Regions from separate parts of the Homo sapiens genome. Here regions 2 and 3 are each linked to region 1. The links are contacts of gene promoters, found by promoter capture Hi-C in human tissues and cell types (Jung and others, 2019). All regions are on one chromosome and are shown on one strand. The core of a region is centred on a gene start or on the middle of the fragment in contact, and the rest is flanking DNA. Distances in the headings are between cores, read along the strand shown.

What was found. The method cuts DNA at HindIII sites, captures the fragments that hold promoters and counts their contacts. A contact is called where the count stands out against the background at its distance.
Region 2: a contact is called between a fragment that was not itself captured here and the fragment with the promoter of ZNF442 in region 1, in 2 of the 25 tissues and cell types used here (mesenchymal stem cells and small bowel).
Region 3: a contact is called between a fragment that was not itself captured here and the fragment with the promoter of ZNF442 in region 1, in 6 of the 25 tissues and cell types used here (H1 embryonic stem cells, aorta, liver and 3 more).

Annotation. Positions count from the first base shown.
Region 1 is chr19:12,363,386-12,367,394 of GRCh38, forward strand. It overlaps ZNF442 (zinc finger protein 442), which reads right to left and starts at 2,298. Exons shown (of 6, transcript NM_030824.3): 1 at 2,148-2,298; 2 at 1,417-1,858; 3 at 169-286. The coding sequence starts at 246. RefSeq lists a silencer at 1,832-2,011 and an enhancer at 2,112-2,211. The HindIII fragment of the contact is 16,775 bases long and covers 1-3,303 here.
Region 2 is chr19:12,424,330-12,428,338 of GRCh38, forward strand. No RefSeq gene overlaps it. Among named protein-coding and RNA genes, the nearest start is that of ZNF443, 15 kb to the right of the region's middle. The HindIII fragment of the contact is 8,163 bases long and covers 1-4,009 here.
Region 3 is chr19:12,314,293-12,318,301 of GRCh38, forward strand. It overlaps ZNF563 (zinc finger protein 563), which reads right to left. Exons shown (of 4, transcript NM_145276.3): 4 at 3,185-4,009. Among named protein-coding and RNA genes, the nearest start is that of ZNF563, 17 kb to the right of the region's middle. The HindIII fragment of the contact is 6,161 bases long and covers 1-4,009 here.

The DNA of each region.
Region 1 (4,009 bases), core at 1,048-3,547:
TCCCATCTCCTGGGACATTAGTCACCCCCATCTGCTCAGTAAAGTGCTCAGTGACCACCCACCACCACCCCAGGAGATACTTCACTGTGTGCTTTTCAGGCTCATGCACACCTGACCTGAATGGGAGGTTCTTGCACAACTGGAATGAGTGGGTTCTCCAGTGCTTACATATTGTTTTCTCTCTTCATTAGTCTGAGAGTCAGGAAGGAAGAGATCACTTCTGTCTTCTCCCCCAAATACAATCATTCAACTGGCTGACCAGCCGTGTGTCCCCAAGGAATGGAAACTGGGGTTGGGGAAGAACAAGGTGATTGTCCCAAGGGTTAGCTTTTTATAGAAATGGTATACCAGAATATTCCTCCCATCCCACCCAGGGCATCCAGCTGTTCTCTGTGAGGCCCCACCCCAACACCTCAGGCTGCTCACTGGGAGAAATGACCCAGGGACTGATATTCACTGGACCCTCCCAGAGACAGGGCAGCTGTGTGTATCTTGGGTCAACCCCAGGCAGTTCTGAAACAGAACCAGGAAAAGGCAGAGAGTGGGCTGAGAACACATCACCCCATAAAGTTTCTAAAGGGGACTTTCAATGTTGATTAGGTATCCGTACCCAGGGGAAAGAAAAGGAGAGACACAAAGGTTTTTTTGTTTGTTTTTTTGTTTTTTACAGTGCAGTGTCAGGTTATTCTCTGCTTCCTCACATGTGAAATGTTCAGGAACACAAATCTTTTAAGAAGCCGGCCGGGCGCGGTGGTCACGCCTGTAATCCCAGCACTTTGGGAGGCCGAGGCGGGCGGATCACCTGAGGTCATGAGTTCGAGATGAGCTTGGCCAACATGGTGAAACCCCGTCGCTACTAAAAATACAAAAAATTAGCCGGGTGTGGTGGTGGGTGCCTGTAATTCCAGCTACTCGGGAGGGTGAGACAGGAGAATTTCTTGAACCCGGGAGGCGGAGGTTGCGGTGAGCCGACATCGCACCATTGCACTCCAGCCTGGGCAACAAGAGCACAACTCCATCTCAAAAAAAAAAAAAAGAAAGAAAGAAAAAAAGAAGCCATCCATTGCTCTCTGAAAACAAAATGAAAATTAAAATACTGGGACTCTGAAATTTAGCACGGGTGGGGCGGAGGAGGGAGGAGTTCATGATGTTGCTGTGAACTGAGGAGGGAAAGTTAGCCTGCGTAAGGCTCTGGAAACCAAGGGAGTTACTACCACCCCTAGGAGGAGTTAGAATGAGGGAACAGGGTAGTGGATTTGAGACCCTGCTACCCCCATCTCTGAAAAACTCGAAGAGGAATCAGTCACCCTGGGAAGAAAAGAAGGGACTGGGGACCCCGCAGACCACAGCTCCTCCCGTGCACAAACCCCACGCAAGAATCTGGATTCTGATTGCAGTTAGATATTAACCAGGTACCCTGAGCCCCACTGCCTCGCGGGGGCCGCCTTCCTGAGAGTCAGGTCACAGAAGACACTGACCGCCGGCTTCTGCATTGTGCCTGGGGATAAGATCTCGGAGAGCTGCTCGAGTTGCCCAAGTTCTTTCTCAGATCTTGAATTCCAACGGAAAGGCTGGCGCCAAGCAGGGTGAAAACCCCACGAGGGAACCCACTCAGCAGGAGAATGCGGTTTCTTCACCTCCCGTCCCAGGATTCGCCTGTCACTTCCCCACCAACCAGCGACCCCACACTTCAGCCGCCCCTGTCCAGACCCCTAAACACCCCCATCCCCAAACCTCTCATGGAGGCGGAACTGGGGTCTTCTCTCCTCTCCCCCTATTAAACTGTTTCTGCTGCAGGCCTTGGAGTCTCGGTGCAGTGACTCGGACCGCGAACCTGTGCCGGTTACAGCCGCACAATCTGGGAAGACGCGGAGCTGTGGGCATGGAGCTGCCCCAGAGAGGGCGCGGGAGCCGGGGCCGCAGTTGCTGCGCAGAAACGGGACAGGACGCCCGGGGTCCCGGCTGCCGGCCCAGCCCCCAGCTCCCACCCCGCGGCCGAGGGGACTGAAGGCCGGCTGGGCCAGGGGAACTCGGGTCCACAGACCCCGCAGTCGCCGCGGGGACGCCCGGGTCCCGCCACAGCCGGTTCTGGCCGGTTCCAACCAGTCCTTCGCCCTGCCCCAGGACGCCGGGCCCCGCACACTCACCATTTCCCGGCTTCCGCGGTGTCCCGTGTTCTCCCCAAGGTTCCCCGCTGCCAGCATAGGACTCAGCGTGACAGTGCCTGCCACTGACCTGCCAGGGCTTCTCTCAGCTACAGAGCCAGGAGCGGGAGCTCAGAGGGGTGTAGAAAGCTCCACCCTCCTCCCGGCAGCGCGCCTGACTGGCAGTTCCCAAGAACTCGCCCCCAACACTGATTGGGTAGAGCTCCAAATTCCGCCCCCCCAGGGAACTGATTGACAGAAGAAGGATCTTACACGGCTGAGTGGAGCGAGATGAAGCGGTTCCAGACACAGCCCTTGATAGGGTGGGCTTCCTCCCTTCGCTGTGACCTGACCCCTCCCAGGGGACATTTGCATTTAAGCGGAATTTCCTGCCTGTACTCAATGGGCTCTTCCTGCTCCTTCTTCCTGGACGGGGACCCACAAGTGTGTGCTGGGAATTCGAGACTCACTGCCCAGTGGAGCCATCCCCTGGCCTCAGAGCGGTAGGGGAGGCCCAGGCCACACAAACCACACTGAAGCAGGAGGGAAGGCCTGGTGTCCTCCAGGGATCAGGAATTTAGGATGAGACTGCTGGCTCCATGGTCAAGCCTTTCTCCCACCTTATCTCCCAATCTACTCATTCTCAGACCAGAAAATAAAAACACATCAACAATGAAATAAAATTGTTAAATGCATGGAAAATCTGGAATTATATGGCAGTAATCTTCTATAAAGGAATCAAAAGAAGGGAAAAGAAAAAACCTGAATTAGTTCAGAGAAATTTCAGCCACAGTTCAGCAGGAAACCCCCTTTCAGGAGGTTAAACATATTTTCAAGCTTAGAAGGCAGATTCTGACTCCTGAAGTTGAGTCCCAGAGTGTGTAACCAGCAGCTTAGCAGCTGAGTCTCAAACCACGTTTTAAACCTTTTTTTTCTTCTTCTTTCCCTTTTCCTCTTTCCCCTCCTGATCTCAAGATAATAACTTCGAGATAAACTGCATAGATGTTACCTCTCATCTTAAAATACAGCCTCAGAATGTGCTGTGAACTTCCACTCCCTTTCCTTTCCCATACTACACTGCCATGCCTTATGCACATTTATTTTTATTTTATTTTTTTGGAGACGGAGTCTCACTCTGTCACCCAGGACAGACTGTAGTGGCTCAATCTTGGCTCACTGCAACCTCCGCCTCCCAAGTTGAAGCAATTCTCCTGCCTCAGCCTCCCGAGTAGCACACTGGACTACAGGTGCACGCTGCCATGCCCAGCTAATTTTTTTGTATTTTAGTAGAGACAGGGTTTCACCATGTTGCCCAGGCTGGTCGTGAACTCCTGAGCTCAGGCAATCCGCCGGCCTCGGCCTCCCAAAGTGTTAGGATTACAGGCGTGAGCCACCACGCCTGGCCTGTGCACATTTATTTACCTAAATACTTATTAAGCACACACCATGCTCTCTTATTTGGTCATATATTTCCTTAGAAGCTTCAGGGGTTGGATCTTGTTAGGTACCAGGCACCTCTGGAATTCTCTTTCCAACAAAAGATTACTTCAAAGACAGAACCCACACCCAGCTGAAGAGTGACTACTATCGGGGAAACCAGCCCCCAATATTTCAACGTAGGTTCTATTTTCCCTAAGTGTCGGCCCATCTGAGAAATTAAGAGAAAGAGTACAAAGAGAAGAATTTTACAGCTGGGCCTCCAGGGGTGACATCACATATCGGCAGGTTCCATGATGCCCACCTGGGCTGCAAAACCAGCAAGTTTTTATTAGGGATTCTAATAGGGGAGGGGGTGTACGAACAGGGAGTAAGTCACAAAGATCACATGCCTCAAAGGGCAATAAAAGATCACAAGGCAAAGGCAA
Region 2 (4,009 bases), core at 449-2,948, 60 kb after region 1:
GCATATTGGCTCATTGAGAAAGGTACAGCCGGGTGTGGTGGCTCACGCCTGTAACCTGAGCATTTTGATAGGCTGAGGTGGGTGGATCACCTGAGGTCAGGATTTCAAGATCAGCCTGGCCAACATGGTAAAACCCCATCTCTACTATAAACACAAAAATTAGCTAGGTGTGGTGGCGCATACCTGTAGTCCCAGCTACTTAGGAGGCTGAGGCAGAAGAATCACTTGAACCCAGGAGGCGGAGGATGCAGTGAGCCAAGATCGTGTCACTGCACTCCAGCCTCGGCGACAGAGTGAGATTCCGTCTCAAAAAAATAAAGGTCCAGCTGGGTGCAGTGGCTCATGCCTGTAATTGCGACACTTTGTGACGCCGAGGCGGGAGAATTGCTTGAGTCCAGAAGTTCAAGACCAGCTTGAGCAACACGGCAAGACTCCATCTCTACAAAAAAATTAAAATGGCATGGTAGTATGTGCCCGTCCAGATCACTGAATCCGTAAAAAAAGAAAAACAGGCCAGGTGCGGTGGCTCATGCCTGTAATCCCAGCAGTTTGGGAGGTCGAAGCAGGCAGATCACCTGAAGTCAGGAGTTCGAGACCAGCCTGACAAACATGGTAAGATCCCATCTCTACTAAACATACAAAAATTAGCTGGGCGTGGTGGCGGGCACCTGTAATCCCAGCTACTCGGGACGCTGAGGCAGGGGAATCACTTGAACCCGGGAGGTGGAGAAAGCAGTGAGCCACGAGATCATGCCATTGTACTCCAGCCTGGGTGAGACAATGAGATTCCATCTCAAAAACAAAGGAAAACAAAACAAAAACCAAACAAACAAAAACCAAACTGGCTGTCTTACTACTGGGGTGGCTGAGTAAGTCCTCTAAACTACTATTCCTATCAAATGGTCCTTGGACACACCCTTAGAGTTTTCTCTTCCCAAGATGATTTTTCATCTTGGTAATATGGATAGACTGGGAATTTTCCAAATCTTTTTGTTTCAGTTCCATCTTAATAATTCCATCTCCAGTCAAGTCTTTCCTCACATTAGTATATGCAGTCAAGAGGAACCAAGCTGCCTTTTTCAACACTTCTTAGAAATGTTGTCAACTCAATATCCAATTTCATCACTTCCTAGTTCTACTTTCCACAAAACTAGCACAGGACCACGATACACAAAGTTCTCTGCCACTTTATAAGAAGAAATCAACTTTTCTCCATTGTGTAATAACATTAACCTCAATTCTCTTTTTACATATATTTTAGTTTGTTTCAGAAACAGGGTCTCACTCTCTCTCCAGCCCAGGCTGGAGTGCAGTAGCATGACCTAGCTTACTGCAGCCTTGAACTCCTGGGCTCAAGTGATCTGGTGACCTCAGCCTCCCTGGTAGCTATGACTACAGGCATATACCACCAAGCCTAGCTAAATTTTCCTTTTTTCTTTTTTTGTAAGGATGAGGTCTCACCATGTTGCCCAGACTGGTCTTGAACTCCAGGCCTCGGTTGGGCATGGTGGCACACACCTGAAGTCCCAGCTACTTGGGAGGCCTGAGGCAGGAGGATCTGTTGAGCTTAGGAGTCGGAGGTGGCAATGAGCTATAATCACGCCACTGCACTCCAGCCTGGGCAACAAATTGAGATCCCCATTTCCAGGAAGGAAGGGAAAGGAGAGGAGGGGAGGGGAGGAAGAAGAGAAGAGAAGGGAAGGGAAAGGGGAAGGAGAAGGGGAAGGGGAAAAGGAAGAGGAAGGGGAAGGGGGAAAATCCAAGCCTCAAGCGATCCTCCCATCTTGGCCATTCAAAGTACTGCCATAACAGGCATGAGCGACCATGCACATTCCACTTTCATTTTTGAGGATCCACTCTCATAATCTAACCTAATCCTTATCATATCTCAAAGAAACCATTGCCTAATACTGCCACATCAGGGAAGTGGAAAAATAAATAAAATTTTCTACAAACATTTATTCCATAACAAGTGATTAGTAGCTTTTTATCATTTTCTAAATACTCTTCATGTTAATCCCTTATCAGATATATAATTTGGAAATGGTTTCTCCCATTCTATGGGTTACCCATTTACTCTGTTAATATTGCCTTTTGATGCCAAAGGTCCACAAAATCCAAATTATTCTTTCCCTTGTGGGTCATGCTTTTGGTGCCAAATCTAGGAAATCATTGCCAAATTCACTGTAATACAGCTTTTGCCATGTATTTTCATCTAACAGTTATACAGCTAAGATGGACACTCACATATTTCGTTCATTTTAACTTCTGTACATGTTAGGTATGGGTACAACGTCATCCTGTTGCATGTGGATGTGCATTGCCCAACAGCATCATTCTACAGAAACATTAAGCTATCCCCCATTGAATAGTCACAGCAGACTTTTCAGTAATTGTTAGACTTTATGTAAATTATTAGACTTTATTAGACTTTCTGTGTTATCTTGTTGCATTGTCTATTTCTGCGTTATTACGCTAGTACCAAACAGTTTTTATTAGTATGGATTTGTAATAAGTTTTGAAATCAGGAAGTGTGAGTTCACCAACTTTGTTCTGGCTTTTTTTTTTTTTTTTTTTGAGACAGAGTCTCGCCCTGTTGCCCAGGCTGGAGTGCAGTGGCATGATCTCAGCTCACTGCAACCTCCACCTCTCAGGCTCAAGTGATTCCCCTGCCTCAGCCTCCTGAGTAGCTGGGATTACAGGTACGCGCCACCATGCCCGACTAATTTTTGTATTTTTAGTAGAGATGCGATTTCACCATGTTGGTCAGGCTAGTCTCCAACTCCTGACCTCATGATCCACCTGCCTCAGCCTCCCAAAGCGGTGGGATTACAGATGTGAGCCACCACATCTGGCCATTGTTCTGGCTTTTGAAGACTGTTTTGTTCATTCAGAGACCCTTGAGATGTCATATATAAAAAAATAAAAAATGTTAAAAAATGGCTCCTAAGAAGGAATCAAGTGGTCAAACCTATCCCTAAAAGGCTAGCAGGGGACAAAAAGTGGTATCTCTCAATAAGAAAATACAAACCTAAGATGTTTTGAAAAGTGGTGTATCACCTTGGAAAGTTCGTCATAAGGTAAGAACAAACCAAGAAATCACACACTAAAGCAGAGAGAAGCTGAAGTTCCTCAAAGTGTTAGAGCTGCCCCTACAGTGGCAAAAATGATCCCTCTAGTTCATGATAAACTAAGGATAAGCATTAAGTGTGTGGCTAGAGGACACGTCACAGAACCACAGCCCTACTGATGGTAACATCATACTTGAAAAAACACTTAGCCAGGCCAAGCGCAGTGGCTCACTCCTGTAATCCCAGCACTTTGGGAGGCCAAGGCGGGTGGATCACAAGGTCAGGAGTTCGAGATCAGCCTGACCAACATGGTGAAACCCAGTCTCTACTCAAAAGACAGCTGGGTGTGGTGGCGCGCACATGTAATCCCAGCTACTCAGAAGGCTGAGGCAGGAGAATCACTTGAACCCGGGAGGTGGGGGTTGCAGTGAGCCAAGATCACGCCACTGTACTCCAGCCTGGGCGACAGAGCAACACTCCGTCTCAAAAAAAAGAAAAAAAAAAAAGAAGGAAAGAAAGAAAAGAAAACAAAAAACACTTAGCCTCTGTAAGCATCACTGTGAGGGGGCTGAGGAGAGCAAGAGGAAGGAGTTTGAAGCCAGTAAGTTCTGGCTAGGCTAACTATGCAACACAGTGCAGCCCAAGAACTTGAAGACCACAGGAGAATTGGCATCGGCTGATGCCAGGGAAACAACAGCATTCCTAGAAGAGCTCATAAAACAGAAAAAAGACACTACCTTCCAGAGTAAATCTTCTATTGTCATGAATCAGGCATGTTCTAGAAGATGCCCAATGGTACCTTCATACATGAGTGCAGGTACTGGGGTTCAAGGCCTGGAAAGACCACCTTTTTCTGGTGCTGTCAGGCCATGCATTAGTTCATGAGAACAAGCGAGGCTTCGTCTACTGAGCAATCACCAGGTTCTTTAGGACAAAAG
Region 3 (4,009 bases), core at 611-3,110, 50 kb before region 1:
GCCAAGATAGCGCCATTGCACTCCAGCCTGGGCAACAAGAGCAAAACTCCATCTCAAAAAAAAAAAAAAAGATCTACAGGAAGGAGTTTCAGGCCAGCAAGGTCTGGCTTAGCTAGCTACACAATGCATTAGAGCTTCAAGAACTTGAAGAACATGGGAGAATTGGCCTTGGCTGATGCAAAGGAAACATCAGCATTCCTAGAAAAGCTCATGAAACTCATTAAAAAAAAAAAAAAAAAAGAGGCTAACTTCCAGAGCAAATCCTCCATTGTAATGAATCAGGCATGTTCTGGAAGAGGATGCCCAATTGTACCTTCATCACAAGAGTACAAAGAAAGCCTTGGGGTTCATGACTTGGAAAGATTGCCTTACTCTGGTGCTACGTGGCAATGCAGCAGGTCATAAGATCAAACAAAGCCTCCTCTACTAAGTAAACAATCCGTGGGTCCTTGAAAACAAAAGCGAAACTTGCCTGCCCGTGTCCTGACAAAAACACACGAGGACTTGGTTCTACCACTGCTTCATTCCTGATGTGAATGAATACCTTGAAAAGAAGGGGCTGCCACTCAAGGCCCTCCTCATAACTGACAACGCTCCTGGCATCTCTCTTCTCTCTGTTATGCCGATAAAAATGGGGAAGTGATGTTCCTGCCTCCTAAAACTACATCACTGCTACAACTACTTGATCAAAGCATCATCAAGTGCCTCAAGGTGTCTTACACCCACTGGACTTTTGGAAGGATTTATGCTGTCTTGATAATAACCCTCACCATGTCATACAGGATTTATGGAAGAGCTTCCCAACTGCAGAAACGATTGTGTTTATTGCGGAGGCTGTAAATGCCCTACAGCTCAAGACAGCCAAAGTGTGTTGGAAGCCATTATGGAGTGAGGAAGTCAATGATTTCAGGCGCTTCTGCACTATCGATATGATAGTCAGAAATATCTTAAATGTAAGGAAAGTTGGTGGGGAAGGCTATCTCTGACACAAGTGAAGACAATGTTGAGGAACACACAGAAGAGCAAAGAAGAAACCTTTACTAACAAGGAACTAGAAGATATGCTGAAATCCTCTATAGATGATGATGATGATGATGTAGATTTAGAAGAGGCAGTGCCGCCAGGCGTGGTGGCTCACGCCTGTAATCCCAACAGTTTGGGAGGCCGAAGCGGGTGAATCACCTGAGGTCACGAGTTTAAGACCAGCCTGGCCAACATGGTGAAACCCCGTCTCTACTAAAAATACAAAAATTAGCTGGGTGTGGTGGCGGGCACCTGTAATCCCAGCTACTTGGGAGGCTGAGGCATGAGAATCGCTTGAACCCAGGAGGCAGTGTTTGCAGTGAGCCGAGATCGTGCCACTGCACTCCAGCCTGGGTGACAGAGTGAGACTCAGTCTCAATAAATAAATAAAGAGGCAGTGCCATAAGTGGTGGCTCATGCCTGTAATCCCAGCATTCTGAGAGGCCAAGGCAGGCAGATCACTTGAAGTCACAGGGAGTTCAAAACCAGCTTGGCAAACATGGCGAAACCCTGTCTCTACTAAAAATACAAAAATTAGCTGGGCATGGTGGTGCATGCCTGTATTCCCAGCTACTTGGGTGGCTGAGGCAGGAGGATCACTTGAACTTGGGAGGTGGAGGTTGCAGTGAGCTGAGATTGTAATCCCAGCTCCTCAGGTGGCTGATGCAGGAGGATCACTTGAACCTGGGAGGTGGAGGCTGCAGTGAGCTGAGATTGCACCACTGCACTTCAGCCTCAGCGACAGAGTGAGACTCTGTCTGAAAAAAAAAAAAAGAAGCAGTGCTATAGATTTTGATACTTGAAAAATCTGAAGGCTGGGTGTGGTGGCTCACCCTGTAATCCTAGTAATTTGGGAGGCCAAGGCAGGCAGATCTCTTGATTCCAGGAGTTCAAGACCAGCCTGGGAAACATGGTGAAACCTTGTCTCCACAAAAAACACAAAAAGTAGCCAGGCATCGTGATGTGTGCCTATAATCCCAGCTACTTGGGAGGCTGAGGTGGGAAGATCACTTGAGCCCAGGAAGTTGAGGCTGCAGTGAGCCATGCACTGTAGGGTGACAGAGTGAGATCTTGTCTTAAAAAAAAAAAAAAAGAAAAGAAAAAGAAAAAAAAAGAAAAATTGGAAGCAGTTTTAGGGCACCTACAGCTTCTACAAGGCGCAAGTGTTAAAGATTATCATCCTCAATTAAGATTCTTCCATGGAACAAAGCCTCCATGTCACCCCAGAGATTACATGCTCACAAACGTTGCAAAGTTTAAAAAAAAAAAAACTAGCTTCCTACAATGTTTCTAATTAAATATCTGCAAATATGAAGACAGCCTTCAATGCTTAAAGATCTTCAGTCCTCAAATTGAACAGATTCTGACATTAGTATTATTTAGACTGCTCCAAAAATTCAGTATCTGCAGTCAGAATCTGTTTCTTCCAATATAGTTGATCATGTTGACATCCTGTCAAGATTCGAGTTAGCCTGAGGTCTCACTGCTTATCTGTGGTGTCACACATCTAGCTGACTCAACACATCACAACATTAGGCACGATATTGCAATAATCATCATTACACTTTTGTTGGGTGAATGTTAACACATTTTCAGGTCATTAAACAAAAGCAATCTATGAGTGTTGAAAGAAAAGATTTATAATGCTCTAGGTGACATGTATTATGTGGGTGGGTCTGTACTGAATATGTGTAGGGTCTTTCTCATATCATGATTCACTAAACAATATAATAACAACTATTTACATAGCTTCTATGATGCATGATGTATTTTAACTAATCTACAGATGATTTAGAGTATACAGGAGGATGTGGGTAGGTTACATGCAAATATTTTTTATTGTTATTATTTTTTTGAGACAGGGTCTCATTCTGTTGCCCATGCTAGAATGCAGTGATGTGATTTTGACTCACCGCAACCTCAACCTCCCAGGCTCAAGCGATCCTCCCACCTCAGCTTCCCTAGTAGCTGGGACTACAGGTACATGTCACCACACCTGGCTAATTTGTGTATCTTCTGTAGAGACAGGGTTTTGCCACATTACCCAGGCTGGCCTCTAACTCCTGGGCTCAAGTGATCCACCTGTCTTGGGCTCCTAAGGTGCTAGGATTACAGAGGTGAGCAACTGTGTCTAACCCAAATATGTCTTTTCTTTCTTTCCTTTTTTTTTTTTTTTGTGTGTGTGACAGAGGTTGTTTTGCTCTTGCTGCCCAGGCTGGAGTGCAGTGGCGCGATCTTGGCTCACCGCAACCTCCGCCTCCCGGATTCAAGTGATTATCCTGCCTCAGCCTCCTGAGTAGCTGGGATTACAGGCATGTGCCATCACATCCGGGTAATTTTGTACCAAATATGTCATTTTTAAAAAAGGACTTGGCATGTGTCGATTTATGTATGCCCAGGGGGTGGTAGAACCACGCTCCTGCAAATATTAGGGGATAACTGTATTTGAAAGAAACTGAGGCTTAAAATTAAGGCTTTACTATGTGTTTACATTCATAGGGTTTATCTCCAATGAGAATTATTTCTATCTGAAATGAAATAACATTAAAGAATACTTCCCTACATTTCACACATTTATAGAGTATCTCTCCAGTGAGTCCTTTTATGTCTATGCAAGGACCTGAGAGAACTCAATGCTTTTCTACATTTCTTACATTCATATGACTTCTCTCCAGAGTGAATCCTTTCATGTACTTTTTTTTTTTTTTTGAGACAGGGTCTGGCTCTGTCGCCCAGGCTGGGGTGCAGTGCATCTTGGCTCACTGCAACCCCCACCCCTTGGGCTCAAGAGATCTTCCCACCTCAGCCTCCCAAGTAGCTGGGACTACAGGGGCATACCACCACACCTGCTACTTTTTCTATTTTTTGTAGAGACATGGTTTCACCATTTTGCCCAGGCAGGCCTCAAATTCCTGAGGTCAAGCAATTTGCCCACCCTAAGTGCTGGGATTACAGGCGTGAGCCACTGTGCCCAGCCTCATGTACT